Regions from separate parts of the Homo sapiens genome. Here region 2 is linked to region 1. The links are contacts of gene promoters, found by promoter capture Hi-C in blood cells and fetal thymus (Javierre and others, 2016). All regions are on one chromosome and are shown on one strand. Each heading gives the region's core, a stretch centred on a gene start or on the middle of the fragment in contact. The rest is flanking DNA. Distances are from core to core; before and after follow the strand shown.

Region 1 (4,236 bases), core at 877-3,376:
CTGGGATAGAGCCAGCCTATCATGGACCCTTTCACCTCATGGGCTTAGGGTCCAACTGTTAAATAAAAGACTGTTAGGTTTCTCAAGGCCCTTTGACTATATAACTCCACTTCATTATATCCCAGAACCTAACTAACTGTGCTTATAGCAAAGTATCTTTGGGAAATGATATGGTTCCAATTTGGATTGTCGTTAAGTGTTCCTTCTTCCCTGATCTGAACAACAGGAGCAGCTCATGGGCTGAAAGTGGGAGGTCAAGATGAAAATTAGGTGAAGATGTAGGTAGACACAGAAGTAAGATCAGGAATGATTTGTTATTAAAGGAATGTGTGAGTACTCACTGTATCAGGTACTGTTCGTATATTACCCTCAATCTTCATAGCCATCTTGGTTTCATTTTACTTGAACACGAAAGCTACAAAGTGTACTATTCACACAACAGAGAAAGCTATACAGTGGGTTCAAATCTCCTCTGCCATGGAAAAGAGAATAAGGGGACCAGCTGTTCAGCTCTGGCCCTCCTTGCTGGGTCCCATTTGAGCTTCTCTCCAGTTCTGGCTGGTTGGGATGTCTCCTTCTTCAAAAGCATCTTGTTAGTTGGTTATTTTTAGCAACATTTAACAACTGAAGAAATGTAAGGTAAAGGAAGCTTAGAAGACTTGCCAGAGGTTATACACTGGAGTGAACTGCAAACACTAGGTGTTCTGCTTGTGGGTCAGAGGTTCAAGGGTGAAGAATTGCCAGGGCAGAGGCTGGAGATGGGAGCTAAGAAATGTTCTACACTTTGCATCCTTTGTCACTGAGAATGATGACAGAGGTGGTGCTGGCTCCTACTGCTGCTCTGAAAGGCTGGGTTAAGAGGAAAGCGGAGGTGGGAGCAGCAGTTCTGCTTTTCATGACAACCAGGGAATAGGGGAGGTGGGAGCCAACAAGGGACCTACATGAACACCCAGTCTGTGTCTTCGTCTATATTACTCACTGTTTACTCCCAGGCTCTCACACCTTATCAGAGGGGAAAAGTAAACCTCCCACAAAACACCATTTGGTTCAACTACAGATGTATTTTGGATATCTTCAATCAACGCTTGATCCTGAAAAAATGCTTTCAAAGAATCTTCAACCAATGGCATACAAGGACCTACTCGGAAATCACAAAAGCCAAATAATGTCAAGCAAGTGTGTAAGAAGACAGCCCTGTATGGCAATACTAAAGAAAATTTTGCATTCTAACTACAAGGGGAAGGAAGAGTCAGCAGGGGTGTAACAAATGACACATGATAGTCACCCCAGAGGATAGCATAAATTGTACACAGTACAAATAGTACAGAAAGTATAATTTGCTTTAGTAATTCAGTTTTTCATTTGGTTTTCAAGACCTGTCAGGGATCAAGAAATTAATATAGACATATACTAATTTTGCATATATAAATTATTTGCAAAACCATTTGTGAAAAAGTTTCACAAATCATTCAATCTAGATTTAACAACTGTTATAAAACTATCCTGAAGCACCTGAAAACCAGTTGGACCAGGGTCAGAAAATCCAAAAAATTCATCAGGTCTTATCCAGAATTACTCTATCTAGTAGCAGTATTAATCCACCCCTCTATTTAGAGTTACACAGGCATATTTCAAGATAAATTATAAGAAAGGAAAGACTGGGTGACCCTCAAATCACTAATTTCAATCCAAAATTATTAAAATAGGGTATTTTAAACTCTATTTTGATGTTAAAGAGCGAAACGTCAACAAAACAGGTTTGGCAAAGGACTATTTATCAAACACAGTCACACAACGATTATGAAACCACATGATAAGATAGCACACAAAGAAAACATTGGCTATTTAACTACTCAGGAGGAAAAACTAGGTGTTCCTAGTTTTTCCTAGGTGGAAGGGGGAAGCAGGCTAAAAAGCAGTTTTTAGGGTTTCAGATATGTAATTGTGGCAGCAGGCACAGCATCAGGGTAAATCTTCCTTTTGACTTCCTCAGAACACCAGTTGAGATTTATGTAAGGTGGTATAATTTAGTTTAGAGAAAACTGAGATTGCATCAGTTTGGCCTCACCCTTGGCCTGACATTTTATCCTTCTCTCCAGAGATCTTGCTTGGACTGCCCTTAAGTACGCTGCTCCAGAGAACTCTGCTCTACATTGTCAGAAACCAGCTTTCAAGTAAGTTCTGTTGCTAGTTCCACATGGTAATTCCACAGTTAAGTCAGAAGGCATTTGAAAAGATGTATAACTTTGGATGGCTCTTTTCTGATTATAGGCTGAAGGGGGTTCTTTTCTCTTTGGTTTGCCTTTTGCTTTTAATAGCTTGACCATTTCTGGCTTCCACTGCATTGTAAGAGCTAAACTACAGGTTTGTCAGTCAGTGTTTCTCTCTCTGTCTCTTTCTCTCTCTCCCTGCTCCTACCCCCTCTTCTCTCCATTCTCCTCTCTCCATCTCTCTCATTTCCTAGTTACAAATCATGTTGTCTTACTGTCTTAAGAGCATCACTGATTTCATCCTTGTGCCACTGTCCCTATGCTCCCAAGATCACATTTCAGCATTTTAGGATACGTTTTTTGTTTCATTTTTAGAATACTTTTCAGAAGAGGTCATGATAAGCAAGACAATTTTACATTTCTGAGTTGAAAAAACTGTGCTGCTCTTCCAGAACAGTTTTGGTTTGTATTCTCAGTTTCAGGGGCTCCCCTGACTCTACATTTTAGGAACAAGAAGAGGTTAACATTGAGCAGGTTGTTCATGAACCGGCAGTTACCTTTACTACAGGAATCACTTTGGATTCAGGCTGAGAAGGCACTATAGCTCTTAAAATCACTATGTAGGGCAAGTGAAGAAGAAAGAAAAGAAAGAAGAAGAAAGTAAGGAGGAGGAGGAAGGAGGAGGTGGGAGAAAGAAGGAAGGGGGAGAAGCGGGAAGGGGGAGGAGGAAGAAGAGGAGGAAGAGGAGCAGGAAGAGGAGCAGGAAGAAAGGGAGGAGGTGAGGAAGGGAGACGGGGAGGAAGGGGAGGAGAAGCATGACCACCATTTTGACCTAAACTCATATCTTATCCACAAATAAATTCAAAATGGATCACAGACTTAAATATAAAACATAATGCTATAAAATTTTCAGAAAAGAAAAACAGGAGAGAATCTTCAGAACATACAGCTAGGCAAAGAGATCTTAGAATTCAGACCAAAAGCACAATTCATAAAAGGAGAAACTGATAAATTGAACCACATCAAAATTAAAACCTTTTGCTCTGCAACTCTGTTAACTGGATGAAAAGACAAACTACAGTCCGGGAGAAAATATTTGCAAATCACATATCCAACAAAAGACTAGAATGTGTACAATTCAACAGTAAAAACCTAAACAATTCAATTAGAAAATGGGCAAAAGATAGGAAAGGAGATGCCACTAAAGAAGATACACTATGGCTAATAATAAGCACATGAAAATGTTAAACTTCACTAACCATTAAGGAAATACAAATTAAAACCATAATGAGATATCACTACATACTTATCAGAATAGCTAAGATAAAAATAAAAAATATTGACACCACCAAATGACAATGCAGACAAACTGGATTACTCAGACTTTGCTGATGGGAATGTCAAATGTTACAACCATTCCAGAAAAGAGTATTGCACTTTTTTATAAAACTAAAAATACACTTATCTTTTGACCCAGCAATTGCACTCTCAGACAATTATCTCAGGGAAATGAAAACTCATGCTCATACAAAAACTTGTACATAAATGATTGTAGCATCTAGCATCTTTGTTCATAAATAGCCCAAACTGGAAACAACCTAAATGCCCTTCAATGGGTAAATGACTAAAAAGCTGTGATTCATCCATACTATGGAATGCTACTGTGCAATAAAAAGGAACAAACTATCGATACATGCAACAGCTTTGAGGGATGTCAAGGGAGTAATGCTGAAGGGAAGAAAAAGCTAAATGCCAAAGGTTACATACTATATGATTCCATTCACCTAGTATTCTTGAAATGACAAATTATAGTGGTTGTCAGAGGAGGCAGGCAGATGGAAGGAGTGAGTAGGGATACAAAAAGGTAGCATGTGGGATCCTTTTAATGCAACTGTTCTGTATCTTGACTGATGGTGACCACAGAAATCTACATGTGATATAACTGCATGGAACTAAATACACACAAACACACATACAATGAATGCTCTGAATAAGGCTGGTGGATTGTATCAATATGAATTTCCTA
Region 2 (4,236 bases), core at 529-3,028, 80 kb before region 1:
GTATTCTAAAACTCCAAATTAAATCAATGGTTAGTAATACCCAGGTATAATGTCCATTTTTAAAGGGTCTTAGTGTGTCTATAAAAAAAAAACAACTTTATTTATTTACAAACCAACTACTCTTCTTTGAATCTAATGTACAACAATGTGACTATAATTAACAATGCATTGTAGACAGGTCCTTTTTTGCTAACGAGTGTTCTTACCACACATACCAAAAAAGAAGAAAATGGCAACTAACTGTGTGGTAATGAGGATGTTTAATTAGCTCCATTGTGATGTATATTTCACAATGTACACATACATGAAATCATCAGGTTGAACATCTCAAAAATACATAATTTTAAGTTGTCAACTCTATCTCAATAAAGCTGGAAAGAAAAATACTCTTTGGTTCACCAAAAATAATAGGAACGCTCTGTTGAGAAAGCTCAAAACAGCAGTTGTGGTTATAAAAAGGATTACTTGAAAATGAATAAAAACGTAAAAGTTTATATTAATATCAATGCCAGAGGCCTCAGGCTGGCAGCCCATAGCGTGGATTCAGAAGTAAATATGTTTTCTTTGCTCTGCTCACTATCTTTAAAATTAAACAGTGGACAATACTTAACAACTGGGGAGATTTAATATATTTAATCGATATTTCGGCTTCCTTTTTGAAAAAGATGAGAAGATGTAGCAACACCCCAGGCCTGTGTTCCCATTCCCACCTAGCTACAGAGGTCCACAGCCCCTACTGGTAGAGAAGGAGCTCTATAATTAACCCTGGCCTCATGCTTCCTTTACCCCCATTCCACAGCCCCTGCAGGCATTTAGGTTTGCAATCATTACTGTTTCTGCATACTTACTCCCAAACACTGTGTGCAGCACCCATTGGCAGGGATTAGTCTGCAGTGGAAATGGACCCTCAGCTATTCTCCAAAGCTACTTGTCTCCAAGCTTGCTCCGCCACCAGAAAGCACTGTGAAGAGCTCACTTACAAAGAAGATTATTTTTTCATGAGCTTACGTCTGACTGTAGAGTGAATGATTAACTCAAGGTATTTGCCAAAGCTGGTTACTGAAGTTACTGGGGGGTGGTTGCCTAAGAGGGTGTTTTTGGAGGGTAATGAATTTCTGGAATTTTCAGTTGATGAAAAAAAGGTAAAATAATCAGGAAGGGAGAGCAAGCAGTGTCACTTTAAAACATAAAATAATCAATAATTACATATTTGTTTAGGGGTTTTCCAAAATTCATACTAAATAGGAAGACAAGAAGACAATTCTTTCAGGGATGTTTTGGAGATCTTGTTTGGGTTTTTTCTTTACTAGTGACTTTCAACTTAAAGAATCATCATAAAATTACAGTATAACACATTGGTAAGTGGTACTTACGAATCACAGGGTTTGTATTCTGATATATACCTGGTATGGCTGAGTAGGACCTCAGTTGTTCCAGCAAGTACAGTACTAAAAAATGTTCAAGATTATGGTCTTCTTGGCACCAGGAGGCATTAAAGATTCCAGGTTAGCTGTGATCCCAGTAGAAGCAAGGTGACTTTTGATCAGAAAATTCCACATTAACTATGGTTAAAGATTTCATGCTAGAAAACTAGGTCAGTTTGTAATTCCTTTAATTCATCCCTTATTTCTAAGAAAAGGTGCTGTTAAGAGCATTTTGCTGTCTTCATGAAGGTCCTTAGGATTTGAACATCTTTCCATTGTAAAACAAGTTTAATAGGGAATCAATTTTATTTTTTATGATTCTCATTATAAAATAATTCATGCTCACTAAATGCATGTGAATAGAATATTTAATGGCAGAAAAATACACATTTTTAAGGAAAAGCAATTTACATATACTATATATGTATGATCTATATAGTATTATTACATTAATCCATGCATTGAAAGAAAGGCTAAAAGGCTATACAGATAAAATGAATTGTAGTTAGTTCTCTGTAACAAAACTATGAGATTTCAATTTTCTTCTTTTTGCTTTTCTGTATTTTCTAAATATTAGTCTGTATAATTTTAATTATAAGAAATAACAAATACATTTTTTATTTATTAGATTATAAGCTCATTTATTCATGAACCCATCCAACTAATGTTTAGGAATATGTATTATAGGCTGGGCACAATGGCTCATACCTGTAATCCTAGCACTTTTATGAAGGGTTTTTAAAAATACAGAAGGGGTTTAGACATGAGTCCTGAAGGCTTAAGATATTTTTGTGGGAATGAAACAAGATCAGAATAGTTTTTTTTTAGAAGATTATCATAGACATATGGTACAAAATAGGTTTTAAGAAGAGGAACTAAAGAATAGGAAATTGTTATTTTCAAGTACTACATTCACAATCAGAGTAGCACAAAGTCAAGAAGGGCATCAATTTGTTGCCCAATCTGCTCTCTTAATGCTCTCTGATTTAGCTCTGGGCAAACTGATAGCTGAGGTAGTGGGTTAATTTCTTTGATATTCCTCTTTGAGTTTTTAAGAGTAGAAATTCTCCTTGGGATGATGAAGATAACATGGGATGATCTTTGTAAAAATATGTGCTCAACCAGAATAATCTGATGCTTTTATAATGTTGCAATTCAGGCACCTGAATGACATCAGGGTCCAATGAAGCTTAGCACCCATAGTTTTAAAAATGAGTAAGATTTCAGATGGATGGCACATCATGAAAAGCTCAGTACTCATGACTTTCAGGCTTTGCTCTAAATGTTCCAGAACCAAGAGTGAATAGTTTAGAAAAAGAAAAAGAAGATAGAAAGAGAGTTGAAAAATCCTGACTATGATCGGTCATCAACTAGTCACTCCTAACAATAAAATATAGCTTTTGTGGCCAAAATGTTACTACATGGTCTTAGTATGTATGGATGCTACTACTCAACATGTCAAAAAGGGGCTGGGCATGGTGGCTCATGTCTGTAATCCCAGCACTTCGGGAGGCCGAGGCAGGCGGATCACTTGAAATCAGAAGTATGAGACCAGCCTGGCTAAAATGGTGAAACCCTGTCTCTACTAAAATGCAAAAATTAACCAGGCATGGTGGCAGGTGCCTGTAATGCCAGCTACTTGGGAGGCTGGGGCAGGAGAATTGCTTGAAGCCAGGAGACGGAGGCTGCAGTGAGCCGAGATCATGCCATTGCACTCCAGCCTGGGTGACAAGAGCAAAATGCCATCTCAAAAAAAAAATGTGAAAAGGGAAATACATCCCAATTTGCATTTACTATAGTAAAGAATTTAAAGCCAACAGAGAGATTGAACTAACATGTCTTTAAATATATATTGATATGAAAGTAATCTCATAAAATCAAAATGTGATTAGAGATAAAGTAAAAATTAACTGTGTGCTATTATGCCAATTCCAGGAAAAATAATAGAGAATAGAAAATAAAACTAAGAAATCCTTAAAGAAGCCTATTTAAGGAATAAAAACTATGAGCTTAAGGCTCTGCTCTACACAGAGCTAAGAACTAAGTATGAAACATATTTAACTATGAAACATCTATTTTCTAACCCATTGCTTGTTCATGGGACTAGCTTTCCATTGAATATCCTGGGGGAAATGTTGACTTAAAGAAAAGGTACCATTTCTTAAAAAGGGGCCTTGAGCTCTTGGTTCTACTCTTTGGTCCAGGCAACCATGGAGAACTCTGGGTGATGAACTATACTACAGGAAATACTACTGTTAGTCTCAAATTGGACTATCAGGTATATACACGCAACATAGATTATACCTTTTAAACTGACAGATACCTGTGTGCGCATGTATACGTTACTCATTTTTATTGTGAAAGCACAAAAATCCCAAATATTATAATGAGATAGTGAGACTTTGAATTATGCTTGACATTATGTAATAACTTATCATGCTTTCTAAAACAGAATCAATTTAACTTATACATAATGAGTTTATCCTAAATACGTGTGCAAACACAAAACATAACTGTCTATTGAGTATAAATGAGTTTGCTGATCCTAAATAGAAGCCAATTAGAGAAACAGCACTTTAGAATACTTTTTAACAAATAAATGTATTATACATTTTTATATTAAGGTATAAATAATCTTTTTATTTTTATTTTTGGAGACAGGGTCTTGCTCTTTTGTCAAGGTTGGAGTGCGGAGGCGTGATTTTAGCTCACTGCAGCCTCAGCATCTCGGGCTCAAGTGATCTTCCCACTTCAGCCTCTTGAGTAGCTGGGAACTACAGGTGTGTGCCACCATCCAGCTAATTTTTGTATT

The links. Contacts are between HindIII fragments. The CHiCAGO score rates a contact against its expected background, and 5 or more counts as called.
Region 2: a contact is called between a fragment that was not itself captured here and the fragment with the promoter of NCOA7-AS1 in region 1, in 7 of 17 cell types (non-activated CD4 T cells, activated CD4 T cells, naive CD8 T cells and 4 more). The highest score is 7.0, in non-activated CD4 T cells.

The regions. Positions count from the first base shown.
Region 1 is chr6:125,816,748-125,820,983 of GRCh38, reverse strand. NCOA7-AS1 (NCOA7 antisense RNA 1) reads left to right here and starts at 2,126. Exons shown (of 3, transcript NR_126386.1): 1 at 2,126-2,174. All of the region lies in intron 2 of NCOA7 (nuclear receptor coactivator 7), which reads right to left. RefSeq lists an enhancer at 2,400-2,901. The HindIII fragment of the contact is 4,548 bases long and covers 652-4,236 here.
Region 2 is chr6:125,896,634-125,900,869 of GRCh38, reverse strand. The region is part of intron 10 of NCOA7 (nuclear receptor coactivator 7); the gene reads right to left. Among named protein-coding and RNA genes, the nearest start is that of HINT3, 58 kb to the left of the region's middle. The HindIII fragment of the contact is 1,674 bases long and covers 942-2,615 here.